7 separate regions of the Homo sapiens genome follow, and regions 1, 2, 3, 5, 6 and 7 are each linked to region 4. Evidence: promoter capture Hi-C in 16 types of primary human blood cells and fetal thymus (Javierre and others, 2016). All regions are on one chromosome and are shown on one strand. Each heading gives the region's core, a stretch centred on a gene start or on the middle of the fragment in contact. The rest is flanking DNA. Distances are from core to core; before and after follow the strand shown.

Region 1 (2,700 bases), core at 15-2,514, 390 kb after region 4:
ACATTGAAGATGGCTGAATAGGAACAGCTCCAGTCTGCAACTCCCGGCATGATTGTTGCAGAAGATGGGTGATTTCTGCATTTCCAACTGAGGTACCTGGTTCATCTCACTGGGACTGGTTGGACAGTGGGTGCAGCCCACAGAGGCGAGCCGAAGCAGAGCGGGGCATCACCTCACCTGGGAAGCACAAGGGGTTGGGGGATTTCCCTTTCCTAGCCAAGGGAAGCCGTGACAGACTCTACCGGGAAAATTGGACACTGCCACCCAAATACTGCACTTTTCCAATGGTCTTAGCAAATGGCACACCAGGAGATTATATCCTGTGCCTGGTTCAGTGGGTCCCACACCCACAGAGCCTTGCTCACTGCTAGCACAGCAGTCTGAGATGAAACTGCAAGGAGGCAGCCTGGCTGGGGGAGGGGCAGCCACCATTGCTGAGGATTGAATAGGTAAACAAAGCAGCTGGAAAGCTCGAACTGGGTGGAGCCCACTGCAGCTCAACAAGGCCTACCTGCCTCTGTAGACTCCACCTCTGGGGCAGGGCATAGCTGAAAAAAAGACAGCAGAAACTTCTGCAGACTTAAACGTCCCTGTCTGACAGCTCTGAAGAGAGCAGTGCTTCTCTCAGCACAGTGTTTGAGCTCTGAGAATGGACAGACTGCATCCTCAAGTGGGTCCCTGAACCCTGTATAGCCTAACTGGGAGACACCTCCCAGTAAGGGCTGACTGACACCTCATACAGCCAAGTGCCCCTCACAGACAAAGCTTCCAGAGGAAGGATCAGGCAGCAATATTTGCTGTCCTGCAATATTGCTGTTCTGTGGCCTCTGCTGATGATACCCAGGCAAACAGGGTCTGGAGTGGACCTCCAGCATACTCCAACAGACGTGCAGCTGAGGGACGTGACTGTTAGAAGGAAAACTAACAAACAGAAAGGAATAGCATCAACATCAACAAAAAGGACATCTGCACCGAAACCCCATTTGTAGGTCACCATCATCAAAGACCAAAGGTAGATAAAACCACAAAGATGGGGAGAATCCAGAGCAGAAAAGCTGAAAATTCTAAAAACCAGAGCACCTCTTTTCCTCCAAAGGATCGCAGCTCCTCACCAGCAATGGAACAAAGCTGGATGGAGAATGACTTTGACGAATTTACAGAATTAAGCTTCAGAAGGTCGGTAATAACAAACTTCTCCAAGCTAAAGGAGGATGCTTGAACCCATTGCAAGGAAGCTAAAAACCTTGAAAAAAGATTAGACAAATGGCTAACTAGAATAAACAGTATGGAGAAGTCCTTAAATGACCTGATGGAGCTGAAAACAATGGCACGAGAACTATGTGATGTAGGCATAAGCTTCAGTAGTTGATTTGATCAAGTGGATGAAAGGGTATCAGTGATTGAGATCAAATTAATGAAATGAAGTGAGAAGAGAAGTTTAGAGAAAAACAAGTAAAAAGAAATGAAAAAAGCCTCCAAGAAATATGGGACTATGTGAAAAGACCAAATCTATGTTTGATTGGTGTACCTGAAAGTGACAGGGAGAATGGAACCATGCTGGAAAACACTTTTCAGGATATTATCCAGGAGAACTTCTCCAACCTAGCAAGGCAGGCCAATATTCAAATACAGGAAATACAGAGAACATCACAAAGATACTTCTTGAGAAGAGCAACCCCAAGACACATAATTGTCAGATTCACCAAGGTTGAAATGAAGGAAAAAATGTTAAAGACAGCCAGAGAGAAAGGTCAGGTTACCCACAAAGGGAAGCCCATCAGACTAACAGCAGATCTCTTGGCAGCAACCCTACAAGCCAAAAGAGAGTGGGGGACAATATTCTACATTCTTAAAGAAAACTATTTTCAATCCAGAATTTCATATCCAGCCAAACTAAGCTTCATAAGTGAAGGAGAAATAAAATCCTTTACACACAAGCAAATGCTGAGAGATTTTGTCATCACTAGGCCTCCTTACAAGAGCTCCTGAAGGAAGCACTAAACATGGAAAGGAACAACCAGTACCAGCCACTGCAAAAAAGCCCAGTTGTAAAGACCATCAATGCTAGGAAGAAACTGCATCAACTAATGGGTAAAATAACCAGCTAACATCATAATGACAGGATCAAATTCACACATAACAATATTAACCTTAAATGTAAATGGGCTAAATTCTCCAATTAAAAGACACAGACTGACAAATTAGATAAAGAGTCAAGACCCATCAGCGTGCTGTATTCTGGAGACCCATCTCACATGCAGAGACACACATAGGCTGAAAATAAAGGGATGGAGAAAGATCTACCAAGCAAAAAGAAAGCAAAAAAAAAAAAAAAAAAAAAAAAGCAGGGGTTGCAATCCTAGTTTCCGATAAAACAGACTTTAAACCAACAAAGATCCAAAGAGACAAAGAAGGCCATTACATAATGGTAAAGGGATCAATTCAACAAGAAGAGCTAACTATCCTAAATATATATGCACCCAATACAGGAGCACCCAGATTCATAAAGCAAGTCCTTAGAGACCTACAAAGAGACTTAGATGCCCACACAATAATAATAGCAGACTTTAACACCCCACTGTTAATATTAGACAGATCAATGAGACAGAAGGTTAACAGGGATATCCAGGACTTGAACTCAGCTCTGCACCAAGTGGACCTAATAGACATCTACAGAACTCTCCACCCCAAATCAACAGA
Region 2 (2,700 bases), core at 41-2,540, 340 kb after region 4:
AAAACATACAACCCTCCTAGATTAAACCAGGAAGAAATAGAAACTCTGAACAGACCAACAGCAAGCAGCAAGACTGAAATGGTAATTAAAACTGCCAACAAACAAAAAGTCCAGAATCAGATGGATTCACAGCTAAATTCTATCCAATATTCAAAGAAGAACTGATACCAATCCTATTGACACTATCCCACAATACAGAGAAAGAGGAAACCCTCCCTAATTCATTCTATGAAGCCAGTATCACCCTAATACTAAAACCAGTAAATAATATAACAAAAAAAAAGAAAACTACAGGCCAATATCCCTGATGAACATAGATGCAAAAATCCTCAACAAAATACTAGCTAGCCGAATCCAACAGCATATCAGAAAGATAACACACCATTATCAAGTGGGTTTCATGCCAGGCGTGCAGGGATGGTTTAACATACCCAAGTCAATAATTGTGATGTACCACATAAACAATTAAAAACAAAAATCACATAATCATCTCAATAGACACAGAAAAGGCATTTGGCAAAATCCAGTGTCCCTTTATAATTAAAACACTCAGCAAAATTGGCATAGAAAGGAGATGCCTTAAGGTAATAAAAGCCATCTATGACAAACCTACAGCTAACATTATACTGAATGGAGAAAGGTTGAAAGCATTTCCCCTGAGATCTGGAACAAGACAGGGATGCCCAGTCTCACTACTTCTATTCAACATAGTACTGGAAGTCCTAGCCAGAGGGATCAGACAAGACAAGGAAATAAAGGGCATCAAATCAGTAAAGAGGAAGTCGAACTGTTGCTGTTTGCTGATGATATGATCATACACCAAGAAAACCCTAAAGATTCATCCAAAAAGCTCCTAGAACTGGCAAATGAATTCAGTAAAGTTTCAGGACACAAAATTAATGTACACAAATCGGTGGCATTGCTATACACTAACAGCAACCAAGCTGCAAATCAAATCAAGAACTCAAACTCTTTTACTATGTCTGCAAAAAAAAAATAAAATACTTAGGAATATACCTAAGGAAGTGAAAGACATCTACAAGAAAAACTACAAAACACTGCTGAAAGAAATTGAAAATGACACAAACAAATGGAAACACATTCCATGCTCATGGATGGGTAGAATCAATATTGTGAAAATGATCATACTGCCAAAAGCAATCTACGGATTCAATGTAATTCCTATCAAAATGTCACCATCATTCTTTGCAGAGCTAGGGAGAACAATCCTAAAATTCATATGAAACTGAAAAGGAACACACATAGCCAAATCAAGACTCAGCAAAAACAAAAACAACCCCCCAAAACCCACAAATCTGGATGTATCACATTACCCGACTTCAAACTAAACTAAAAGGCTATAGTTACCGAAACAGCATGGTACTGGTATAAAAATAGGCACATAGACCAATGAAACAGAATACAGAACCCAGAAATAAAGCCAAATACTTAACAGCCAACTGATCTTTGACAAAGCAAACACAAACGTAAAGTGGGGAAAGGACACCCTATTCAACAGATGGTACTGGGGTAACTGGCAAGCCACATGTAGAAGAATGAAACTGGATCCTCATCTCTCACCTTACACAAAAATGAACTCAAGATTAGATCAAAGACTTAAATCTTTTAAGACCTGAAACCATAAAAGTCCCAGAAGATATCATCAGAAAAACCCTTCTAGACATTGGCTTAGGCAAAGACTTCCTGACCATGAACCCAAAAACAAATTCAACAAAAACAAAGACAAATAGATGGGACTTAATTAAACTAAAAAGATTCTGCACAGCAAAGGAAATAATCAGTAAACAGACAACCCACAGAGTGGAGAAAATCTTGGTAAACTATGCATCTGACAAAGGTCTAATATCCAGAATCTACAAAAAAACCAAACAAATCAGCAAGAAAAAAAACAAACAATCCCATCAAAAAGTGGGCTAAGGACATGAATAGACAATTCCCAAAAGAAGATATACAAGTGTTCAACAAACATATGAAAACATGTTCAACACAACTAATTATCAGGGAAATGCAAATCAAAACCACAATGCAATACCACCTTACTCCTGCAAGAATGGCCATAATCAAAAAATCAAAAAATAATAGATGTTGGCATCAATGTGGTAAAAAGGGAAAACTTTTACACTGCTGCTGGGAATGTAAACTAGTATAACCACTATGGAAAATGGTGTGGAGATTCCTTAAGGAACCAAAAGTAGATCTAACATTTGACCCAGCAATCCCACTACTGGGTATCTACCCAGAGAAAAAGAAGTCATTATACGAAAAACACACTTGAACACACATTTATAGCAACACAATTTGTAACTGCAAAAATATGGAATCAACCCAAATGCCCATCAATCAACAAGTGGATAAAGAAAATGTGGTATGTATAATATACACACACACACACCACGGAATACTACTCAGCCATAAAAAATAATGAAATAATGGCATTCACAGCAACCTGGATGGAGGTGGAGACCATTATTCTAAGTAAAGTAACTCAGGAATGGAAAACCAAACATTGTAAGTTGTCACTCATAAATGGGAACTAAGCTATGAGGATGCAAAGGCATAGAATGATACAATGGACTTTGGGAACTTGAAGTAAAGGGTGGGAGGGGGTGAGGGATAAATGACTACACATTGGGTACTGTGTACACTGCTTGGGTGAGGGGTGCACCCAAATCTCAAAAA
Region 3 (2,700 bases), core at 79-2,578, 310 kb after region 4:
TACAAAAAAATGAAATGGGAAAATACCCCAAATCAAGGCAATGTTAAAAAAAAAAAAAAAAAGGGAATATAGAATAGATGAGACAAATAGAAAATAAATAGTAAGGTGGTTGATTTAGAACCAAACATATCAATGATTATATTAAAAGCAAATAGACTAAAAACTACAATTAAAAAATAAAGATTGCCAGCCAGACTCGAGAAAAATAAACTCATCTACATGCAGCTTACAAGAGACACATATTAAATAGATTTATAAAGTTGAAAGCAAAATAATAGAAAAATATACCATACAAACAGTAATTAAAGGAAAGCTTATTGATACCACAAAAAAAACTAGTAGTTACATGGCTTGTTCTCTGTGACATTCATTAAGCTCTACATTTATGATTTTACATACTTTTCTGTATTAACATTTATTTCAGTAAAAAGTGTATACAAAAACCCATTCATGTGTCTTTATCCCATTAAGTACATACTTAATATATTCATATTTGATATAAAAATATCCCAAAATCTACAAGTAAAATTGACATGCCATGACAACACACCATGCTTATGCTGCATTATATATCTTATATTTCAGGCTCTCTCCTGAATTGTAATTCCAGTTTGGGAAGAAAAACCCTAAGAGGAAGAGGAGAGGTGAAGGAACAGCACAGTATAAGCAAAGCTGCCCAGTATCTTGAGATGTAAATTAACCATCTGAAACTATCAGATACATGTTTACACCTTTTGCTCTATCCTGACTGTACCTTCAAGTTCAGAAAGGTAGGCCTTCATGGATGATGAGTACATAGCCCCACTCAACGATCCTTCTCTCTACACCCAATCAAATTTGCCACAGGAAAACCAGAAACAAGTTTACCATGTCTTTCTGCTGTTTTCTCTGATGAGGGGGTCTCAAATTCTGCCTCCCTACTGCCCCCTTTCCCTCATTCAGGTTGGCCGTTAGTGTAATCTTTATATCCAAAAGATACAATAAAACATATCCCTCCTGTCTTAAGTGATTGTTCTGAAATTCTAAATATCTCGATTGTCTGAGGACCAGTTCATTAGACCTTGCTCTAACCAGAAATCTTGGTTTGAAATTTCATTCAAACAGCCAGAGAGAACTGATTAGTCAAGTATCTGTTCGATATTATACAAGTCCTTCCTTTAGCAGTATACATGATCAAGACAATCTACAATAGAGGTATGTGATATGAAAGTACCATGAATTGAAAACATGAAGCCAAGAGAAGTAAATGAAAGATGTTTTAACTCTTAATTTCTTATGGAGGAAGACAAGCAGAATACGATTGAAGCAGTGAACCTGGAGCATTAGCAGATACTGAGTTGTCACTCTCTACATCCTCTGATTCTCTCACTAACACTTTGCCTTACAGCACACTGATCTTGGTTTTCCATTGCTTTTTGTCCTAGCTGTGATTTTGCCTTAATACCATACACAGCCACTTCACCATCTCAGAAAAGAACAAAGACAGTATTTTACTGCTGCAGAGTCTACCGCTCCTGGCACTGGAGAAGAAAGCAGTAGTCACAATGCCATTCAGTACCACTTAGGCAGAAAGCACTGTGACTGAGAAGAGGAAGGACTGCAGGACCAGAGAAAATTCCTATTTCTATCATCATATGGATATCTGAAGTTAAAGAAGTGCTAACCCAGCTCCATCAACTATGAATACTAACATGCTACTCAATCATATTCCAAGGACATGCTGAGCTTCAGAACAAGCCTACTTCTATAACACAAAAACAGTTACTGTTTGTGGAAAGCTACTGAAGTACTTATGGACACAGTTTTTCTTAGCTGAAGAGGCACTTTTTAAGCAAGGCATCTATCCTGGAGTGAATGTAAGGAAAACTGACTTCTTGGTGTTACGTAATTGTTTTTAACTTTAAAATGTTTTGTGATGCTGTCTGATGCCTGTCATACTCTCTTACTCTTCTCCCCCAGAGTATCAGCACACTCAGAATGTGTTGGCTCCTCTTGTGTTGTGTTTACCACATTCCCTTCCAATTTAAAGGACTCCGGCCTTATGACTAAATAACTGTAAACTCCCATTTTTTTTTTTCCTGCTCCTGGGATAAAATAGCCATCTCATGGGGGTAGAATGCATCCCAAAGCTCACTCAGATTTTTGGCAAAAATCATGTCCACAAGAGTGTTGAGGTAGACTAGACTGGAAAAAGACACAGCTTAACCACACTGCACATTATGAGGGCTTAAATACTATTTCTTTGAATTGGGTGGGGGAAGTTCTTTATGCCAAGTGCTTCCAAACCTGATGTGTAATCAGAATCGCTTGAGGATATTTTAAAAGTACAGATTTCCAAGCTTGACAACTGAGGTTTCAGATACAAAAGAACTCCCGGGACAACTAAAATTTATATTTTAATTTTATTTTTAAAGGGACAGCTTTATGCTATTCATTGTTAAAAAAGGATTTAGAAGGAAGAAATCATCACAAGTCCTACTACCCAGAAACAACAATTATTAATATTTTGTGATTATCATTACAGGTTTCTCTCTAGCAATAACAAAAATAGGAGAGGTAATTACAGTTAACATTTGAACCCTGTACTAAGAGCATCTGCAAACTATAAAGTACGGACTAGTATTCCCATTTACAGATGAATTCAGACACAGAGAGTCACACTAGCAATCTGAATCAGGAATTCAGACTCTTAACCACTTT
Region 4 (2,700 bases), core at 12-2,511:
GCAGTTATCTTGTTTTTATCAATCTTTCATAAATGTATATATAGCTTAGATTTATTTCAATGTTTATTATTAGAGGTGTTTTGAGTATTTAGAGGTTTAGTGATGTTTTTGTGACTAGGAATATGCCATAAGAGCTTAACTCTTATTTATATCAATTAGCTCTTGGGAAAATTGTCTTCATTATCAATTGTTTCACTTTATGTCACAGTTTCCAGAACCTACAGAGGACATTAAGTGAGGACTTACTGTATATAGGTGGTTGTGCTTGTGAAGGATTAAATGAGGTAATGTGTGTGAAGCACTCAGGACAGTGCCTAGCACCTGGTAAGTGTCCATGAATTGGAGGCTATTATTGCTGTAATAAGGAAATTCATACACATTAAAATGGCTAAGAAAGTTCATTTTAAATAACCGTAACATGCACATTTGTATTGCTTTCTCGGATGATCTTGCTATTCTCTATTTCAGAGGAAGTCCGTGGAGAAGCCTGCCTGTTAGCTGTCTAGGGGTCAGGTGGCTTCTTGGCAGTATATATTACATGATAAACATTGACTTAATATGGACCATAACCACAAGGTAGAAAATAGGGAAACAGGGAGTGGAAAAACCACAGTGATCCTTTCCTAGAGAGAGACCAAAATATTAACCGCTGTAAACCTCTCATGTTACAGTTCGAACACATCTTAATAAATGATTAAATCTACTCTCTCATTTCATAAGTGGGGAACTGAAGCCCCCATAAAAGTTAGGGGCAGAACTATGACTATACTCAGACCACTCTTTCCCTGTATATTATATATACCTTTTATTATAAAAAATTTCAAAAATCACAGAAATACAAAGACTAGAACAATGCACACCTATGTACTCATCATCCAGCTTTAATAACAATCAAACTGTTACCTCTCTTAAAAAAACAGCTTTGATTCTGAGTCTGGTGTCATTTATACTCCTTCACAGAGATGTTCAGAACCAGTATCTTAGAGCACATCCCCCAGGCAAAGAAATGTAGCAATAAAAAGAGAAGGACATAGCATGAGAAAAAAAGGCAGGCTGTCAACCAATGCCTAAAATGTAGAAAGTTCTCTCAAGTTGTTTTTACAATAGTCTGGAAAACACAGTCTCATTCTGAAAGGACACTGTTCCTTTAAATTGCTTACTGATCCCACCCAGATCTTGCACCCTGGCCAAATGCCTGACCACTCTTGCTTTGACTTAGTCGAATAAACATGAACAAAAGACTGCAAAAGATCCTAAAGCAAAGACACTTTTATTTCCCACAGAACAGAACAATATCAAATAGCTAACTTCACCCCCAACCACAGTCCTTGCTGTTGGCATTTACTCAACTAGTCTTTAATTCCTGTTTGACAAACTTTATAAGGTAAGACATAACAGATTTATTTTAGTCACTTGAAATCAGATAGGACCATCAAGGAACTGTGGAAGACTAAATGACTTACTTACATAATTATTAGGTGAGAAAGCTTGTCAATAGTTTGTATTCTCTGCAATTACTTCAAATCAATTATTAGAAAAATATTAACATTGTTAAAATGTAGAAATTTAAAACTTAAAATTATTTTGAAATGGATTTTTAATTTACAGTCTTCTAAATTGTTTTACAACGATGTTAATATATTTTAGGACATCTTTTTCTTAATTTGGAACAGGGTTTACAATTCAGAATTAGTTATAGAATACTTTACAACTTGGCTAATTTGTCAATTTGAATAAAGTCTTTATTCAATCATTTTCTATTTGTGTAGAAACTGAGATGCAAACATTGTAACTAAAGTTGGTGAACTCTGATATAAGATCATTTTATTTTTGAAAAATTATAAAAAATAAAGTATCTTGGATTTATTTACTGATCCTGATATTTACCCCAAATAAATTTTAGGCCAAAAGTAAAACTACGGTATTTGATTAATAATTATGATTGTTTCTGCATTTATAAAATGTAACCTATAGTAAACACAGAGGTTCACATTTCTTTCACTTAACTAATGGCACTGTTTCCTCTGAAACCTATTTTGCTTGTACGTGACATCAGAAAGAGAGAAAGGTGAGAATTATTAAAAACAGAGGCAAAATAAAACATGGTAAAAAGTGATTAGAAATGAGTGGGCTCTCAAGATGCCAAATTAATAAACGAGAAAGATATTTCAGGGAAGCAGTAGAACTAACAAGCTAGAGAAACAAATCTAGAGAGGTATGAAAATGTCCTCTGGCTACAATAGGGAAACAGAAAGAAATAACAAGACTTTGGTTTGGGAGAGCTAGATTAACAATGTCAGAGCAAATAAGAACAAAATATGAGATACTGGGATTATTGTCAATGGAAAAGTTATGTTTGTGAATATCATATATACAGGGATCAGGTACAAATTCATGATTATATGCCAAGAAAACAGTAAGAGCAGGTGCTTAGTTTTGGGAAAAGATAAATCTTTATTTAAAGCCAGTATTTCTAAAACCTTACATGAAGGGTTTTGAAGAGTTGCTTGATTATGTTGCTTATAAAATCTTGCTCAGTTCTCAATGGAATTCAGTTCTCAGCCTCTTATTTCCAGAACTTCTGAGATGTTCCTTATGGTATGAACTCAACCAAAGAGAAAAGTCATATGTAATACCATGGCCATGGTGTTATTCCCTTTCCCCTTTGAAAATGCAATAACAACTGTGTTTTTCACATAG
Region 5 (2,883 bases), core at 122-2,621, 370 kb after region 4:
CCTGGTGTCCAATCAGGGCATGCCCTCCTCAATTCAAATCATAAAATTTGTCATGGCTTAGCACAGTTTAGTGGAAAGATCTTGGTCTTTGAAGTAAGATTGATGTGTTTGAATTCCAGCTGTAAATAAAAAGGACTAACATGATTAGTTAAAGTGGAGAAAGCTCTAAGAAGGAAGAACTCAGTCTAGGACTCCTTGTATAACTACTGCGGCATGCTTACTATTGTATTACACAGTGTGCTAAGCACTTGCCTTACTGATTTAATGTTTACACCAACCCTCTGTGGTAGGCATTAGCAACTCCATTTAACTGATTTTTAAAAAATGTAGTCTTAGAGATTAAGCAATTTGTAAATAGTATAACACGGATTTCAACCCGGTTGTTTTTAACTGCTTTATTGAGGTATAATTGACATTCAATAAGTATACATAAAGTGCATAATTTGATGTTGTGACATATGTATACACCCATGAAACTATCACCGCAGTCAAGATAATGAATGTATCTATCACCTCCAAAAGTTTCCTCCTGCCACTTCCCACCCTGCCCCATCTCCAAGCAACCACTGATCTGCTTTCTGTCAATAGAGATTAGTTTGCATTTTCTAGAGTTATAAAAATGATATCATACATTATGTGCTTTTTCATATCTGGTTTTATTCACTGGCATTGTTACTTTGAAATTAAACCATATTGTTATGTTTATCAATAGTTTATTACTTTTTATTGTTCAGTAATATTCTATTATAAGAATATACCACAATTTTTGTATTCATTCAAATACTGAAGGACATTTAATCCAATTGTTTCTCACCCTAAACCTGTGCTACACTCTCTTCCCAGTTCCATCACTTATTGTGTGGGCTTAGGAAACCTAATTATTCTCCCTGAGTCTTGGTTTTTCTCATGATAAAATGGCAGTAATATACGTTTTTTTCACATGGTTGTTATCAGTAAATGAGAGAACGTGAACACGCCTGGTACAGGTGTCCCTTATCTCAAGTGCCTGGGACCAGAAGTATTTTGGACTTCAGAGTTTTTGAACTTTTGGAATATTTGCATATACATAATGAAATATCTCTGGGATGGGACCCAAGTCTAAACATGAAATGTATGTTTCATATGCACCTTATACACATAACCTGATGGTAATTTTATACAATATTTTCAAAAATTTTGTGCATGAAATGAGTTTTTCTATTTTGACTGTGACTCATCACATAACATTAGGTGTGGAATTTTCCACTCGTAGCATCATGTTGATGCTCAAAAAGCTTTGGATTTTAGACCATTTCAGATTTTGGGTTTTTGGATTACAGATGCTCAACTGGTACCATGTGATCATAAATTGGTGCTTACAACTATTCATTTTTTTTTCTCCTGAAAGGGAACATATCGGAGAAGGAAATGAGAAAAGATATAGCAGTACATGCCTTTCTGGACTCTTTCTTCCTGTCTTGAAAGCTTTGAATTCTTGCATCTAGAGCTTCCTACACTGAAACGTCCTCTTAATCTTTCTCACTTTGATTTCTCCTACACCTGTCTCATCTGCACCCCATGGATATGATGTTTGTCTTTTCTCTTTAATCCAAATATGGACACAATTTTTTTCTTATTCCCTTAGCGTAACTGAAATAGAGTGATGCATTCACAAAAATTAAAGGATAAATTAAATGGGTATAATTATGTAAAAGGAAGCAATGGAAAAATAGTCAAGGCTCCTAGATGCGTGCTTTATTCCACATAATCCCACCACAGTGAGTAAAGGGGCTTTATTTAGTTCCATATCTGCTTGCACAAGGATCACCATCTTCTAACACAGATGGGTGGGCACAACCTGGCCTGAGCTCCTTCCTAACCTGCCTTCTGTCTTTCAGTTATCTGGCCATCTTCTCTTCCTGGCTACTGTGGTTTCTAGTTCTGTTCACATAAAAATGCCAGACCAACCTTTTATTCTAAATTCAAACTTCTCAGGCACTGTTTGGTCCTTCTCTGAGGCTTTCAAATCTAAAAGAAACACATAAATGAATAAAGTTGACAGGCAAGGTTAATCTTTCCTAGGGTTTCTAGGGCATTTTACTCACCCTACACATCTTAAATAATACAAAATAATATTTACATGCAATCAAAGGCAGCAAACCCAAGGTGAACACTGTAATGGTTTGCCCTGTTCCTCCTTCAGGACAGAAAGATTTATTTCCACAACTATTGGGAGTGCTGCCAGCAGATGACCTTCAGCTTACAGCCCTCTCAGGGAACTGCCTCAGGTGCAAACAACTTAAAGCCATGCCCCCTCAGGCACCCACATCCAATGACTGATCAACATAGGGGTATTAAAAATAGAGCTTTCCTTCCCTGACCTGTGATACTCTTTAGGGCCATTCCACCTTCAGAGTTCCTCGTCGGGTTGACTGAGGACTTTAAGACTATATCACAGCTCAACTTTTCCCACTGTCCAATCCTGCTTCTGTCTCTTTCCATGCACAGGTGCTGATCTTAAAAGTCTTCCCTAATAAACTTTCTACATGCTGATCTCCATTTCAGAGTCTGTTTTCTGGAAAACCCAGCCTATGGCAAAATGTAAAGCAAGAGGAGAGCTGTATCCCAATCCTCCTGAAATCCAAGCTCCTTTTTAGGTATCTCAGATCAATAGGTTATAGAATTTGACTTACTTCTGCTTACTTAGAGTTAGCTCTTCATACATCATAGACCCGTTAACATTAATGTTCCACATGAGAAATGAAGAAAGGTGTAAGGAAGGGATCCAGTTTCAGCTTTCTACATATGGCTAGCCAGTTTCCCCAGCACCATTTATTAAATAGGGAATCCTTTCCCCATTGCTTGTTTTTCTCAGGTTTGTCAAAGATCAGATAGTTGTAGATA
Region 6 (2,700 bases), core at 9-2,508, 270 kb after region 4:
AGCAAGTCTCATCAACCTTGCTAGAGGCCTTCAACACATGTGCCTGTGTGTATGTGTCCATGTGCACATGTGTCTGTTTTCATGTTAAATTGACAATAAATGGGCAAACGATCTAACAGTTTAAAATATGATTGGAAAGGAAATTTTTTAGATTTTAGAATCCCATCACAAGCTTCAATTTTTCTTTTTAAAGTGTCAATTTCATCCCCACAAAAAAGTTACAAAAGTGAACAATTGAAAGATGAAAATTTCAGAGAGGCTTAAGTGTGTGAAATTCCTTTCGTTCAATGATGCACTAGAGATATCTGCATTTGAGCACAGTCATGATGAGGGGTAGATTGTCAGCCATAGTTAGCTATCCAGGATATGGCATTTACAAAATAATGGCATTATGTCAAAGTTCAAATGAATACCATGTTCAAATGAATACCATTTAAGAATGCCCCACTATCTTTGGAAAAATGGCTCAAGGAAATCATTTCCCACAAATCCATCTTACTTCTTCTGAGGAGCAGTTGGTTGAGGTAGTGGGGAATGTGGCCTGAAGAGGTAGCTCTGATGAAGTGCTACTCCTTAGGTTGTAACTGGGCCCCTCTGTAGAGCAGCATGTGCCCTGACTCACTGACCTCCAGTGGGGATATTTTAACGTGTTAATTTCACTGAAACAGACATGCTGATGCTAAGCTAGTATTAGAAAACTTCCCAAGAGAAAAATAGATAGTATGTAAGAATAGGTCAAGGTGGAATTAGTCTGGATATTAAGACATGTGAGATTCACATATGTAAGTATCCACTTGTTTCATGTCCCAAGATACCCAATTCTATAAATATTTTCTAGGTCTTCTGCTGTCTTTGGTTTTCATGGAAATTGGGATAGTTTGAAAAGAGCACTCCTTAATTCAACCTTAAACAGTTTAGGGCATCAGGTGCTCTTGAATGTGGTGGGAAACTAACAAAGCCAGTTGTGTATGAGAGGTTGAGTGGAAGGTTCTGGTTTCCTGTGATATTACATCTTGGGTAAAATGTATCTTGGGGACCAGGCCACCTTTGTAAAATCAACAGATTGGCCATAAGATTAAAAATTATGACTCAGGAGTCATGCACCCAGAGGTTACAAGATTACTAACCTCCCCAATTGCTCCTATAGATAACATTACTACTATAAAACCTAAGATTGGTGCTTGAGATATCTTTTAGACCCTGCATTCTGATGGATCAGCTGGCACCACCCAGAATGGTAAACCAACTCATCTGGTCTTGTGGCCCCTACCCAGGAACTAACTCATGCCTGCCAAAGTGTCTTTAAAAAATCCTAGCCTCCAAATTTTTGGGGAGGCTGATTTAAATAATAGTAAAATTCTGGTCTCCTATTTAGCTGGCTCTATGCATATTAAAATCTCTCTCTATTGCACTTCCCTGTCTTTACAAATTGGCTGTATCTGGGCAGCAGGCAAGATGAACTGGTTACAATCTCATTTGATTCTTTAAGGATAATACTTTGCTAAACTCTGAGACTTCTTTACCTCACTACGATGTTGGTCAGCAGAAGGTCAGTGGGGTTCTTAGATTTTCATTTGTATATACACCATTGCCACCATGTGGGGCAGCATAGATTTTATGGCTTCCATAAGGTGTAACAGATTCATTCATCCTATTCAAAAGGTGACTGACATATTCTTGCCAAAGACAGAATTCAACCAAAAATAACTAGAAAATGTAACTGAATACCAAAAAAATAACAGACAATAGACCTAGACCAATAGGGGATCTTGATAATGTGACTATCCAACATGGATTCTATAATGATTTGCTTAAAATGTTTAAGGAAATAAAAATTAAGATTGAGGACATTGGCAGAGACCTGGAAATATAAAAAATAACCAAATGGAAATTCTAGAATTGAAAAACTTGATAAATGAAATCAAGAACTCAACAGATGGGCTTAACAGAGAACAAATACTACCAATAAAACTTCTTTATTTTTTTTGAGACAAGAGTCTCGCTCTGTTGCCCAGGCTGCGGTGCAGTGGCACGATCTTGGCTCACTGCGATCTCCACCTCCCAGGCTCAACTGATTCTCATGCCTCAGCCACTCAAGTAGCTGGGATTATAGCTGTGTGCCAACACGCCTGGCTAATTTTTGTATTTCTAGTAGAAATGAGGTTTCATCATATTGCCCAGGCTGGTCTCAAACCCCTGGGCTCAAGGGATCCACCCGCCTCGGCTTCCCAAAGTGCTGGGATTACAGGCGTGAGCCACTGCACTTGGCTGCCACAAAACTTTTCATTACAGAAGTTACTGAGTGACCTCCCCCAAACTCTACAAATTCCCACAAGAAGCTTAGCCTCCAAAAGGCGAGCTCGTTTGCCCTGGACAGTTCATGGCTTTATCTTTGGTGAATGGGCATTTGTTGTCTTTGAGTTATGTTCTTTACTTCCAAGTCCTTATCCTTAATTGGTCATTTTGGATCGACATGTCTGAAAAGTATTATCAGCCCTCTGTAATAGTTAAGTTGGAGAAGCCATCTCTATACACTGAGTTCCTGCGGGCAGGATTGTATCTTTTCCTCTCTGCGATCCCAGGACCAGCAAAATACCTGGGGGCAAATCAGTCATTCCTATGAATGTAATAGGACTTGAAGAGTAGAAGGAAAGTGAGGGAAGGGTTAATGACAGACTTCAAAAAAACCAAACCCTAGGT
Region 7 (2,741 bases), core at 59-2,558, 320 kb after region 4:
ACACGCAGAGCCAATAAAAAGCCCCTGGGAGAACTGGCATCATACCTTGTCTACACAGTCCCCGCACAGGGCTCCTAACCTGTGGTCAGTAAAGAACGTCACTTTCTAACAGGTCTGGAAGCTCCGAGTTTCTTGGGACCTCAAGAAGAGAGGATCACCTAACTCACAGGTATTTGAGGATAGAAACCCATTGCTGGCCTAGGCTTTAAAGGTCTTATCTAAGATTCCTTGTGGAACTGAGTTTTATCAAAGCCATCCAAAAGACCTATGTAGAAATAACCATTCTTGCTAACACTTCATGCAAATAATCAGGCCAAGTATAAGACTAAAGTTCATTCACAATTAGCTTTTACCAAAAATGAGAACTGGAGAGAAAATTTTGCTCCAAAGCTTATCATACATTTGTCATTAAATCCTAGTCTCATTAATTGTTTTTAAGCTTTTTGCCTACATTTTAAATTAACCCTGCTTATTCCTGTGACTCAAGTGGTAATCTTCTGCAGCTTGGAAGAAAGAAAAAGGGATGGGTAATGTAAAAATCTGAATCACTATACTAATTGTGGGAAATTATCCTGCAAATTCTGCCAGGTAATAAAAGTAAGTAGGGTATCCATAACCCGAAGGTTTCTTTGTTTAGGAAAATAAAACCAAAGCTTCATAGACCACCAAAGGGAAATTATCTTGGCAAGTAAAATTTTAGATGGAAATTATCTACTACACCACACTTGTGGGAACTGCTATACTCACTCTACTGTTTGCAATAGGGATACACACGGTAGCACCTTCTAACTGAAATATTGGACAGAGTTTCCATTGCTGTTGTATTTTGCTTAATTATTATCCTTAGAGCAGGAATAATAGTTACTGACAAGGAAGCATGAAAGTTTTACTATCACTGAGTCTGCTAGGACTTTTTTTGGGTTTAGGGGTGATTAACACCTCTAGTAAAGTAGAGAAAAATCTACAGGTACTTAAAGATCAAATCAAAATTATTGACAGGCTCAGGGAAAACGCCAGCTTCAGCCCCGGGTGGCTACAAATTCTTCTTTAATACATTCCAGTCTTCCTTAAGGAATTGGTTAACTCCTTTTTTAAGCCTTCTCTTGTTTATATGTCTTGTATTGATATCTGGGCCCTGTATACTCAATACTGTAACTCTCACCTAGAAGCAATCAATCTCCAAATGGTGCTGCAAACTGATCCACACATGGACATGCCATTCTTCCGAGGATCCTTAGATCAACCCCAGGAGGAGCCCTAGTTGCTGTTCCCCATATGATGCCCCTTTTCAGCAGTAAGTAGCCAGAAGGAGTTGTTGCCCAAAACCCTCTAACAGCAGTTAGTGTGGCATCTCCACAGGCGGGAATGTTGTAGGAGTTATTAAGAAATTATTTTAGGCAGAGAAGAAAAAGGGGTCCTTGGAAAGTTTTCATTTTTTAAAGCATCTCCAGAAAAGTTTCTTGTAAAGCCACGGCTGTTAAAGCCAGGCCAGCAACCTTTCATATGCAAATTTAGGCCATTAGAAACTGGGTCCACCCAAACATGGAGATTCCCACAGCCTTCTTGCCCTTGCCCTACATGTTCCTGGAATCCCGACGAGCGTAGAACATCATGGCGCCATGTATTTGCATATTAAAAGACCAGGGTGGAAGAGCCAGCTTTTTCATGAGCTATGTGAATGATGCGCCTAGTCAACCCAATCCCCGGAGCCCTATGCAAATCGAACACCACCTTCTCCAGCCTCTGCATATATACCTGGCTGGTGTCCACCGCACTTGGGGATCCCTTCTCTTGGCTTTGGAGCCTCCCTCCCTCTGTCTCTGTACGGGGGAGCTTCTTCCTTCTGCCTTCTCCCTTCTGTCTGGCCTATTAAACTCTCCGCTCCTTAAAACCAAAAAAAAAAAAAAAAAAAAAGAATCTGCCCACCATGAAATTATGCATGGTCTCATCATTTGAAGCTTTAAATACATTTCTATAATACAAAGCCATAAACTGGACATACAACATGAGCTATACAGATGCTTCGCAATCAAGTCAAAATCAAGCTCCCCAAGTCTCCAGTTGAAATTATACCCTTTAAAATAGTCCCACAATTCCAGGTTCAGAAAATAAAAAGTCAGAACAACTTTTTGTTACTGTTCCAAGAGTCACAAATATTTTTTGCAACCTCAACAGGTTCTGTCAGGCCTCTGAGCCCAAGCTAAGCCATCATATCCCCTGTGACCTGCACGTATACATCCAGATGGCCTGAAGTAACTGAAAAATCACAAAAGAAGTGAAAATGGCCTGTTCCTCCCTTAACTGATGACATTACCTTGTGAAATTCCTTCCCCTGGCTCATCCTGGCTCAAAAGCTCCCCCACTGAGCACCTTGTGTCCCCCGCCCCTGCCCGCCAGAGAACAACTCCCTTTGACTGTAATTTTCCACTACCTACCCAAATCCTATTTTTATAAATAGGCCGTTTTATAAAACGGCCCCACCCCATCTCCCTTCGCTGACTCTCCTTTCGCACTCAGCCCGCCTGCACCCAGGTGAAATAAAAAGCTTTATTGTTCACACAAAGCCTGTTTGGTGGTCTCTTCACACGGACGTGAGTGAAAGGTTCTACAATACCCAAGGTTGGGAGAAAATTATACTGCTTTATCACACTGAAAACTTTCTAGGAACATCCAATATTCTTTCTCCACGAATGTCCTATCTGCCTGTCCCAGGAGTAGGCTGATCCTTATCCATTACAAGG

What was found. The method cuts DNA at HindIII sites, captures the fragments that hold promoters and counts their contacts. A CHiCAGO score of 5 or more calls a contact.
Region 1: a fragment that was not itself captured here is called in contact with the fragment with the promoter of COL28A1 in region 4 in 1 of 17 cell types (non-activated CD4 T cells); the score reaches 5.2 in non-activated CD4 T cells.
Region 2: a contact is called between a fragment that was not itself captured here and the fragment with the promoter of COL28A1 in region 4, in 1 of 17 cell types (naive B cells). The highest score is 5.1, in naive B cells.
Region 3: a fragment that was not itself captured here is called in contact with the fragment with the promoter of COL28A1 in region 4 in 4 of 17 cell types (total B cells, naive CD8 T cells, total CD4 T cells and 1 more); the score reaches 7.2 in total B cells.
Region 5: a contact is called between a fragment that was not itself captured here and the fragment with the promoter of COL28A1 in region 4, in 9 of 17 cell types (naive B cells, total B cells, naive CD4 T cells and 6 more). The highest score is 19.5, in naive B cells.
Region 6: a fragment that was not itself captured here is called in contact with the fragment with the promoter of COL28A1 in region 4 in 3 of 17 cell types (total B cells, naive B cells and non-activated CD4 T cells); the score reaches 6.0 in total B cells.
Region 7: a fragment that was not itself captured here is called in contact with the fragment with the promoter of COL28A1 in region 4 in 1 of 17 cell types (naive B cells); the score reaches 5.9 in naive B cells.

Annotation. Positions count from the first base shown.
Region 1 is chr7:7,143,054-7,145,753 of GRCh38, reverse strand. No RefSeq gene overlaps it. Among named protein-coding and RNA genes, the nearest start is that of C1GALT1, 38 kb to the left of the region's middle. The HindIII fragment of the contact is 189 bases long and covers 1,170-1,358 here.
Region 2 is chr7:7,192,217-7,194,916 of GRCh38, reverse strand. All of the region lies in intron 1 of C1GALT1 (core 1 synthase, glycoprotein-N-acetylgalactosamine 3-beta-galactosyltransferase 1), which reads right to left. Among named protein-coding and RNA genes, the nearest start is that of C1GALT1, 11 kb to the right of the region's middle. The HindIII fragment of the contact is 6,809 bases long and covers 1-2,700 here.
Region 3 is chr7:7,227,985-7,230,684 of GRCh38, reverse strand. All of the region lies in intron 1 of C1GALT1 (core 1 synthase, glycoprotein-N-acetylgalactosamine 3-beta-galactosyltransferase 1), which reads right to left. Among named protein-coding and RNA genes, the nearest start is that of LINC03016, 26 kb to the left of the region's middle. The HindIII fragment of the contact is 2,026 bases long and covers 316-2,341 here.
Region 4 is chr7:7,534,434-7,537,133 of GRCh38, reverse strand. COL28A1 (collagen type XXVIII alpha 1 chain) reads left to right here and starts at 1,261. Exons shown (of 35, transcript NM_001037763.3): 1 at 1,261-1,384. The HindIII fragment of the contact is 1,663 bases long and covers 1-1,489 here.
Region 5 is chr7:7,164,165-7,167,047 of GRCh38, reverse strand. It overlaps a transcript of C1GALT1 not described here. Among named protein-coding and RNA genes, the nearest start is that of C1GALT1, 17 kb to the left of the region's middle. The HindIII fragment of the contact is 190 bases long and covers 1,277-1,466 here.
Region 6 is chr7:7,260,439-7,263,138 of GRCh38, reverse strand. All of the region lies in intron 2 of LINC03016 (long intergenic non-protein coding RNA 3016), which reads right to left. Among named protein-coding and RNA genes, the nearest start is that of LINC03016, 6.6 kb to the right of the region's middle. The HindIII fragment of the contact is 2,167 bases long and covers 175-2,341 here.
Region 7 is chr7:7,209,589-7,212,329 of GRCh38, reverse strand. All of the region lies in intron 1 of C1GALT1 (core 1 synthase, glycoprotein-N-acetylgalactosamine 3-beta-galactosyltransferase 1), which reads right to left. Among named protein-coding and RNA genes, the nearest start is that of C1GALT1, 28 kb to the right of the region's middle. RefSeq lists enhancers at 1,203-1,774, 1,775-2,345, 2,346-2,741. The HindIII fragment of the contact is 1,305 bases long and covers 656-1,960 here.